2 separate regions of the Homo sapiens genome follow, and region 2 is linked to region 1. Evidence: promoter capture Hi-C in 16 types of primary human blood cells and fetal thymus (Javierre and others, 2016). All regions are on one chromosome and are shown on one strand. The core of a region is centred on a gene start or on the middle of the fragment in contact, and the rest is flanking DNA. Distances in the headings are between cores, read along the strand shown.

What was found. Contacts are between HindIII fragments. The CHiCAGO score rates a contact against its expected background, and 5 or more counts as called.
Region 2: the fragment with the promoter of MLYCD here is called in contact with the fragment with the promoter of ADAD2-AS1 in region 1 in 5 of 17 cell types (total CD8 T cells, neutrophils, naive CD4 T cells and 2 more); the score reaches 6.8 in total CD8 T cells.

The regions. Positions count from the first base shown.
Region 1 is chr16:84,194,780-84,199,093 of GRCh38, reverse strand. It overlaps ADAD2-AS1 (ADAD2 antisense RNA 1), which reads left to right and starts at 2,041. Exons shown (of 5, transcript NR_147175.1): 1 at 2,041-2,212; 2 at 3,653-3,833; 3 at 3,938-4,049. ADAD2 (adenosine deaminase domain containing 2) reads right to left here. Exons shown (of 10, transcript NM_001145400.2): 3 at 4,114-4,161; 4 at 3,900-4,025; 5 at 3,648-3,798; 6 at 3,397-3,564; 7 at 3,050-3,279; 8 at 2,724-2,967; 9 at 2,327-2,447; 10 at 1,928-2,224. The coding sequence ends at 2,120. RefSeq lists enhancers at 2,811-3,433, 3,589-4,314. The HindIII fragment of the contact is 32,016 bases long and covers 1-4,314 here.
Region 2 is chr16:83,896,938-83,901,251 of GRCh38, reverse strand. MLYCD (malonyl-CoA decarboxylase) reads right to left here and starts at 2,137. Exons shown (of 5, transcript NM_012213.3): 1 at 1,580-2,137. The coding sequence starts at 2,107. RefSeq lists silencers at 1,468-1,637, 1,938-2,367. The HindIII fragment of the contact is 8,175 bases long and covers 1-3,501 here.

The sequences.
Region 1 (4,314 bases), core at 792-3,291:
AACTGGGGCTCAGAGAGGTTCAGAGTTTCATCCAAGGTCACGTAAGGAAATCCAGCTGCAGCCCTGGGTGGTGGCTGCAATCGAAGGGCTTGGAAGCCTGGCGGCCTGCACATCACCACAGCTCCAGCCCACCTCAGGTGCTGGGTGTTCTAGAAGTTACCTAACTGCACCTTGCCAGTTTCCTCACCTGTACACTGAGGCAATGATCGCATCTATCATGGCAAGCTGTGGGAGGTTAAAACAGAACAGACACACCATGCTTCAGGCGTGCTGGAGTTGTCTAGTCTGTCCACTGGTGCTGTTTCCTCTACCCCACCTCCCTCAGATTCTCCCATTTCATCGTCACTGTGGGGAAAGGAGACAGGATGAGCCCAGCGAAAGCAGACGGAAAGCCCAGGCCTGCAGATGGGCAGGCTGGCCAAGAACACACCCCTGGGACCAGCCCTCTGATTATTTCTCTAGATGAGTCAACCTACAAGCACGGAGGTTAAGTGGCTGCCCGTGGCCACGGCCACACACACCCAGTGGCAGAGACAAAAGGGGGTTGGAGGGAGAGGACCCAATCGCACGACTTCAACATTAGGCCTGGCCCTGAGTGACAGCTCTGGAGTGAGCTGTCTGCATCGGTCAGGGTTCTCCAGAGAAACAGAACCAACAGGATATATAGAGATGTATTGCGAGGCATTGACCCACACGATACGGAGTCGAAGCAGTCCCACCATTTGCTGTGTGAGTGCTGGGGGCCCACGTGGTGGCGTTCTAGTCCAAACTCGAAGGCCTGAGAACTGGGAGAACCAATGTTATGAGTCCTGGTCCAAGTCTGAAGGCCAGAGACCCAGGAGTTGTGATGTCCCAGCTCAAGGGGAGAGAGCGAATTCACCTTCCTCTGCTTGCTTGTTGTTTGCAGGCCCTCAGTGGATTGGATGGTGCCTGCCTGCACTGGGGAGCGCCATCTTCTTACTCAGCCCCATAATTAGATGCTAATCCCTCCCAGAGACACCCCACATGGGAGAGTAGCCTGTGGTTCTGAACCCTGCAACTGCTAGGGATGCAGGGAGGGAGTCACAGGGTGGGGGTCACAGGGCTGGCCACGGTCCTCTACTGTCCCTGGCCCCAGGTCCCTGGACTTCAAAGCTGTTGTGCTCCTGGCTCAACGGCTATAGTGCCCATGCTGGTGAGGTTCCAGGTGTGTGTGCGAGTGTGCACGCACACATGCTTTTAGTGTTACCATCTTCTCTCCCCATCCAGAGTCAACAGAGTGCCTGAGTGCCATGTGGCCTTACTATGCTACCCTGGGGGAAACGGAGAGAGAACTGCCGAGCCCACACAGGGCAGGAGCACTGTCCCTCTCCATGGTGGAAGACGCAGGCTCTAGCGGTCCAATGCCTCGCCCAGGTCCAACAGCCGGGCGGCCCAGGGAAAGCACTGATGCTGCTCATGCCCTCCCCACGCCCTTCAACATGGGGCTGCCCAGACCCCACAGCACCCTCGAGGGCCAGGGCAGCTAAAGCTCTGACCAGGGAAGGGTGTTCTCTGCCCTCCCACACATCCTGGGGGCCCAGAAAGGCAAGGATTTGGAGCCCCAATAGCGGCCAGAGGACAAAATGCTCACACATCCAAGCAGCCTGCCCTCCCACCCTTTACAACACCCGCAACCCGTGGCCTCCGTGGTCTCCTCCAGCACACAGGCTGGAAAACAGGAGGAACCAGGGGAGGTCACCTCCCCTCCTAAACCTGCCTCCAGCCCTGTGAACAGGGGCGGGGGTGACAATTCAGTGGCTCAGTGAGAGGATCCAGGTGGGAACCCAGTGAACACAGGGCCTCCCAAAGGAGGAGTGAGGGGCTCTCTCCGCAAACAAAGGGCCCCTGGCCACCCCAACACATAAACACACACACACACACACACACAGCCAACTACACACACAGGAACCAGAAATACTTCTTTATTCAAGCCCAAACGTGCAGCAGCCGCCTCCCAACCACAGCAGGCTCCTCCTTCCCTCCAGCCCCAGTTTCACCCCGCACAACCCATGTTCTCCCCACAACGCTCCTCAGATAGGGCACTCCCCCAGCAGGGGTACAGCTTGGCTCCGGGACCTCGGTCCCGCCGAGGCTGGCTTCAGTTTCTGAATTTGCCCACCAGTGGCTTCGAGGGCCAAGCCCCCAGGCCCTGCTGGTCCAGGAGGAGAGACAGCTGCCTGCGAGCCTCCTGGTAGGGCCCAGCCTAGGGCGGGAGATGAGAGGTGGGGTGAGAGGAGGTACCTGCAGGGGGCAGGGACTGCAGGGCTGGAGAGGGACCGGGACGGGGGGAGGGTGGGGAACCAACCTTGGCAGCCTCGTAGGTCTTCAAGGCCAGGAGGTAGGGCTTCCCCACAGCCCTGGCCGCCTGGTGAAAGGCCCGGAGAAAGGAGGCCTTGCAGAGACGGGAGGGAGGCCCCAGGGCGGCACTGGATGAAGAGAGGATACCACTGAGATCAGAGAGATACAAGCTGGACCAGCAGGCCTGCTACACACCTCACACTACCTCCTCTCACACTGTGACAATGTCACAGGACTCACAGGGCAGACAGAGGTGTGGCCACCACTACGGAGCTAGGAAGGGGTTGAGCGAAGGGGTTGAGCGAAGGGGTTGCGCTGGGATTAGACTGAGGTGAGGAAGCTCATGCATGAGCCCTCCATCACCAGCACTGCTCCACAGCCCGGCCCCAGGGGGCCCTTCTCACTTGGCCTTCACACGCCCGGTGGCCACATCCACAACCTCGATGCCAGGGTCCCCCAGGCTCCAGTTGAGGCTCAGGCCACGGCAGGTGTCAGGGGTGGGTTCGGAAGGGGCCACCGGGGGCCCTGCAAACAGGTGCAGGGCGGTCCGGACGTAGGGAGGTGGCAGGCATGGCCCCAGGACACTGTCCAGGCAGGGCCGGGTGTGGATGGCCCTGCTCAGAGTCGGAGGGTCGTGGCATGAGTCAGCTGCAGGGCAGAAGGGACAGGACAAGGTGAGTGACCTCCCTGCCCTCCCTTCTCACCCCCCCAGCCCTCACCACGTGCTCACCCAGGATGAGGCTGGTGCTGTAGAGTGGGGACACCAGGTGGGCCAGCAGGGCACCACCCAGCCCCAGCACGGCCCAGCGTGCCAGCTTGTCACTGGCTGACAGGCAGCCCACGTGGGTGTCACAGAGCGAGGGCGCCACGTAGCACACAGGCTTCAGCTGCCCGAGCACATGGGCCTGCAGGCGCATGGGTGGGCTGTGCGGGAGGCCACCTTCCGAGGTGGGGGGCAGGCTGCGGGCCGGGTGGGGACAGACATCAGCTTCAGGGCTGCTCTTCTGACCCTGGCCCCCACCCAGCAGCCCAACCGAGGGAGCCCCATCCCCCGCCTGCCCCGGGGGCCCTGCATACTAGATGTCACGGGCCGCGCCCTTGGGGGTGTTGCTGATGTAGAGGTGCAGGAAGACGCGGGGCTTGAGGGTGAATGGGGGTCCGGGCCCTGGCTGGGGGGCCAGCACGGACTGCTCCTTGCCCTTGGGGCCCCCCTGTGTGGCCAGCAGGAGCTGCCGGAACAAGAACCTAGGAGCGACAGGCACAGGGTGGTTGGGAAGACCTTGTCCTGGCGAAGGCTGCTATCAGGCGCCCACCCCACTGCCCCTCACCTCAGCAGGGCCCTGCGGGCGATGACCAGGCCATGGCAGTCGTGGAGCTGCTGGCCCGAGAACTCCAGCCAGCCAGCACAGCAGCTGCTGCCGGTGCCCAGAGCCACCAGCTTGTAGATCTCCTTCACGTGGCCCCTGGCACGCGGGATCTCTGTGCAGGAGGGGGCAGAGACGGCCCAGCCTAAGGCAAGGAGCTTGAGGGGGCCCTTCCCAGGGGGCCGGGGCCAGGGCCAGGGCTGGGGCGATCCCTACCCCTCTCCAGGATGACTCCAGCCACAGTCCCCTTACAGGCCCAGTATGGCGAGCGCTCGTCCAACAGGAGGTCAAAGCCGGCGCTCACCAACGCTGCGCAGCGCTGCTCATGGGTCAGGATGTTCTCTGCGCCAGGGCGAGAGACTGCAGGTAGAAGGGGGCCCACGCCTCTCCCCTCGACACTACAAGCCTGGGTCCGGGAATGCTCACCTACCTACGCTCAGGGGGGCCAGTGGAGGCCGGCTGGAGGTCTGGGGGGACTCTGAAAGAGGCAAGGAGGGCGGGCTGGTGTGGGTGCCAAGGCCCACCCTCCGTCCCTCAGGAAGCCAAGGAGGCGGGGAGAGGAAGTTTTCATCTTCCAGACACAGGACATTACACGAGCTGCTCTTCTAGCGGTCCCTACCCCCGGTGTCCC
Region 2 (4,314 bases), core at 888-3,387, 300 kb after region 1:
AGCTATTCAGACTAGGCTTGAGCCCAGAACATGATAATTCAACACAGTAAGAATTCATGACTGATTCTGTGTCATGCAATTAGCAACTGTGGGCTTTCTGTCTGAGAATCTTACGGCCAAAGATGCCTGGCCCTCAGTAACACTTAGCGCTGTAAATTAACCAGCTATCACGGGGAATCAAATCATGGCCACTGTTGTCACTCTTGACATTAATCCCATACTTAATTATGCCCAATTTTATGCATCTAAGTAGCCAAAAAAGAAAGTTTCTAATAAACATCTGATTAACGGTAAGACAGTGATATAAAGCGTAGTGCAAATAACCCTGGATTAGGGTGGGTGATCAGCAAGAGCTTTTCGCTCTGAATTTCAGGACAAGTAACACAACCTCAGCATGTTCTCCTTTACTGTAAAAGGGATACGTGTTATCACCCACGTAAGACTGAAGGAATGTAAACTATTAAACCAGTATTAGAGTTCTTAAATGGGTCAAGTCATAATCATTCAAGTGTTCAATTTTTTTTTAACACCAACTGCACATAACAAACTTCTGAATGTCCAAAACTTCCTGAAACATTTACGTCATTTTTCGTTCATTAAAAGGGCAGGTTAAGCCTGGGCCACATGGTGAAACGCCCTCTCTACAAAAAAAAAAAAAAAAAAAAAAAATTAGCCGGGCATGGTGGCCTGCACCTGTAGTCCCAGCTACTCAGGAGGCTGAGGTGGGAAGATTGCTTGAGCCTGGGGAAGTCGAGGCTGCAGTGAGCCGTGATAACACCACTGTACTCCAGTCTGGGCAACAAAAATAAAAATAAAAAAAGGGCAGGTTAGTTTTTCGCCGTATTTAATACTAACAGTATAAAAGAAGAGTATATGTTGCTCTAGGCCTTCTTTCGGGTCATAATCATTTAAATCTCAAAGTATGTGTCTGCATTTAACATGAATGAACTGTGCTAATGCCTGATTACCTCAAGTCAACTCAGAATCATCACATTAAGTACTGAACGCAGGGAGTTAAATGCCCTCCCAAAAGTCATGGAGCACAGACAAGGCCAGAAGCCATGGAGACTCCTGGGTGGTGGTGGTGACCTTGAGTCCTATTTACCTTTGTGCATTTCACAGGACTTCTCAGGACAATGTCTCACACATAGCGGGTGCCCAGTGAACTTCTGAAACACCATCCAGGGTCTCAGAAGGCTGCCTGATGCTCTAGTTCAGGTATACCATATAGATGAAACACTTCTCAGCTACAATAATTTCAAAAGACTGTAGAGCACACACTAATCAGGTACGAGAGGTGACAGCTACCTTAAAGACCACCAAGTGCTGAGTATTTAGTAAACACTATACAAGTGAGGACTTCAAGGACAGACTGGAGGAAGGCGGGGGTGTGCTCTGACGAGGCCAGGACTCAGACAGCGTGGGAAGGGGACACAGTTGGCAGGCGGTAACTGCGGGCGAAGTGAGCGTGCTATCGGGCAGGGAAGGCGGGGTGTGTGGGACTTGGAGGGGGCAAGTGAGGACTACTCGAGGAGGGCGGCCAGTCCGCGCTGCCGGGGGATCGACGGCGGCCCCTTACCCGGACGTCCGGCCCCTCCACCAGCTTGAGGGCCTGCGCCTCCAGCAGGTCGGCCCGCAGCTGCACCAGGAAGCGCACGCCGCCGTCCAGCTTGCTGATGTGGTGGAAGAGGCCGCGATAGCGCGGCACCAGCGCGTAGCGCAGCCGGTCCTCGGCCTGCAGCAGCACCGCCGCCTCCCGCTGCTGCTGGCGCAGATGGAGCACGCCGGCGCTCTGCTCCGCCACCTGGCCGTGGTCCACGCCGAAGCCCCGCGCCAGGCGGCCCAGCAGTTCGGCCCGCTGGGCCGTCTCGGCCAGCCCACCGTAGAAGCTCACGAAGTCCGCGCACTGACCCTCGGCGGGCGCCGGTGTCTTCTCGCGCAGCTCGTAGGCCGGCGTCGGCGGCACCGCGCGGCGCAGCAGCTCGTCCATGGCCCGCTCCAGGGCGCCGGCCGCCTGCCCGCTCGCCAGCCGGGGCCCGGGCGGCCGCGGGGGCAACCGCAGCGGGAGGAGACGCCTGGCCGTCAAGCCTGGCCCGAAGCCTCGCATGGTGCCCCACAACAGCTGCCGAGGGGGAGCGCCGCCGCCGCTGCCGCGCTTCCGGCTTCCGGCGCGCGCCGGCCCCATTGGCCGAGGCCGCGAGCCCGGCTGGGGACGCGGCCAATAGGAGGGCGGGGCGGTGGGGGCGAGGCGGCGGGGGCGGAGCGGCTCTGGCGGCGGCCGGAGGCCAAGTGTGGCTAAAGGTTACTGCCCCGCGGCTGGGCTGCCTCGGGGCCTGCTCCCGCGCGGCTGGCGGCTTGTACTCCGGTCCTAACACCTGACCGCCTAAAGGCACCGGCCCAGCCCCTCCTCTCTTTCCCGACTGCACTGCACAAGTGCCGCCTCCTCTCTAGATCCGAGCGCCTCCAGCCTCCCGGTGCATCAGAGTCACCTGGGAACTCCTGCACCGGAGGATTCCTGGGCTCCGAAATCAGAATCCTAGAGATTCAGATTCAGTGTGTCTGGGAGGAGCCAAGGAATATGCTTGCTTAAGAGGTGTTTGTGGCAATCCTCTGGCATGGTAGGTAGCCTTTGTTTGACCCCTGCCTAGGCACTCACCATTCGCGTCAGTGTCTTACACACATGACGCTCAGAGCCACAGAGGTTGGAGGGGTGTGTGAGTGTGTGTGGAGAGAGAGAGAATATGTCTATATGTATGGATGTATGTACACATACGCACGCATATACACATACATATGTATGTAAAAGAGACATGGAGACAGAGAGACTGATGGAAAGCCATACCCTTGAGCAAATGCCAGAATGAGACAAAGAGTTTTCTTTGAAATAGTTTTCAGATAATTGCAGTTATCAAGGCATATTTATTTTGTCCTCTAGAAAGATAGGCCTGAACTCTAGTTCCCCCTCCTTCCCCAATCCATTACAATCTGTAGAAGAGAATGTCACATACCAGCCATGTCTCCCACATGCAAAATTGCAGGAGGCATTAGGAACACAGTGGGATTTTGTTCCACTCTGATGGAAATATGGCATCTTTGGTTGGAGGGTGAGGGAGCCATGTACTTGGTTGACTATGTCTAGGTGCTAGGATTTCTATAGGTAGAACCCTTTGGTGCAGGTCTTGCAGTATAAAAGACACCTGGAGGTAGTTCTGTATGAGGACAGCCTTTGCTGGGTGTGTCTCATCTTATGGGGCACGAAGAAAGTACGTTTGGCTCATTCTGCCAAGACACAGACACACAAAACATTCTGAAAGCCTAGTGGTGGCTTTTGAGGACACCTCTCCATTCCTCTTTTCTAAGAAGTGGTGAAACCATATTGCCAGCTGGCTAAGGGAGTTGGTGGGGTCCAAACTCTGGTGTTTGTCTCTTTGCCTTGTCGAGTGAGCTTTTGTCTGTCCTAGGATACTCCTGCCTTGCTTTAGGAATCTTGTCTTGAAAGCTTGACTTTGCTTAAGCATTTGCTAAGTGTAGTACTCCCACAACCCTGTTCTTTCTCATCTTTCCCGGTGCCTTCCTTTTTATGTAATTTCTGGCTTCTGTTTTTTTTTTCTCTGTGTTTATACTTTTTTCTCTAGGCGTCAACAGCCATCCTCTGCTTTTTCCCACTCATGTCCTTATTTCAAAAGACTGCCCCAATCCAAAAATGAAATTAAAGAAACAATTCTATTTACAACAACATCTGAAGGGATAAAAGAAACATGTTTAACCAAGGAAGTGTGAGACTGGTAGATGGAAAACCACAGAACAGTATTGAAGGAAATTAAAGAAGACCTAAACAAATGGAATGGTCCATGCATGGTTCATGGATTGGAAGATGTAATATTGTTAATATAGCTCATATGGTTTGGATCTGTGTCCAACCAAATCTCATGTCTAGTTGTAATCCTCAGTGTTGGAGGTGGCGCCTGGTAAGAAATGATTGGATCATAGGGGCAGAGTTCTCATAAATGGGTTAGCACCATCCCCGCTTGGTACCCTACAGTGAGTTCTCAGGAGATCCGGTTGTTTAGAAGTGTGCATCACCACCCCCTCTCTCCTGCTCTGGCTATGTGAAGCTCCTCACTCCCCCTTTGCCTTCCGCCATGAATGGAAGCCTCCTGAGGCCTCTCCAGAAGCAGAAGCCACTACGTCTTCTGTACAGCTTGTGGAACCATAATCCGATTAAACCTCTTTTCTTTATGAATTACCCAGTCTCGTGTATTTCTTTATAGCAGCGTGAGAATAGACTAATACAATGGCAATACTCCCAAAATT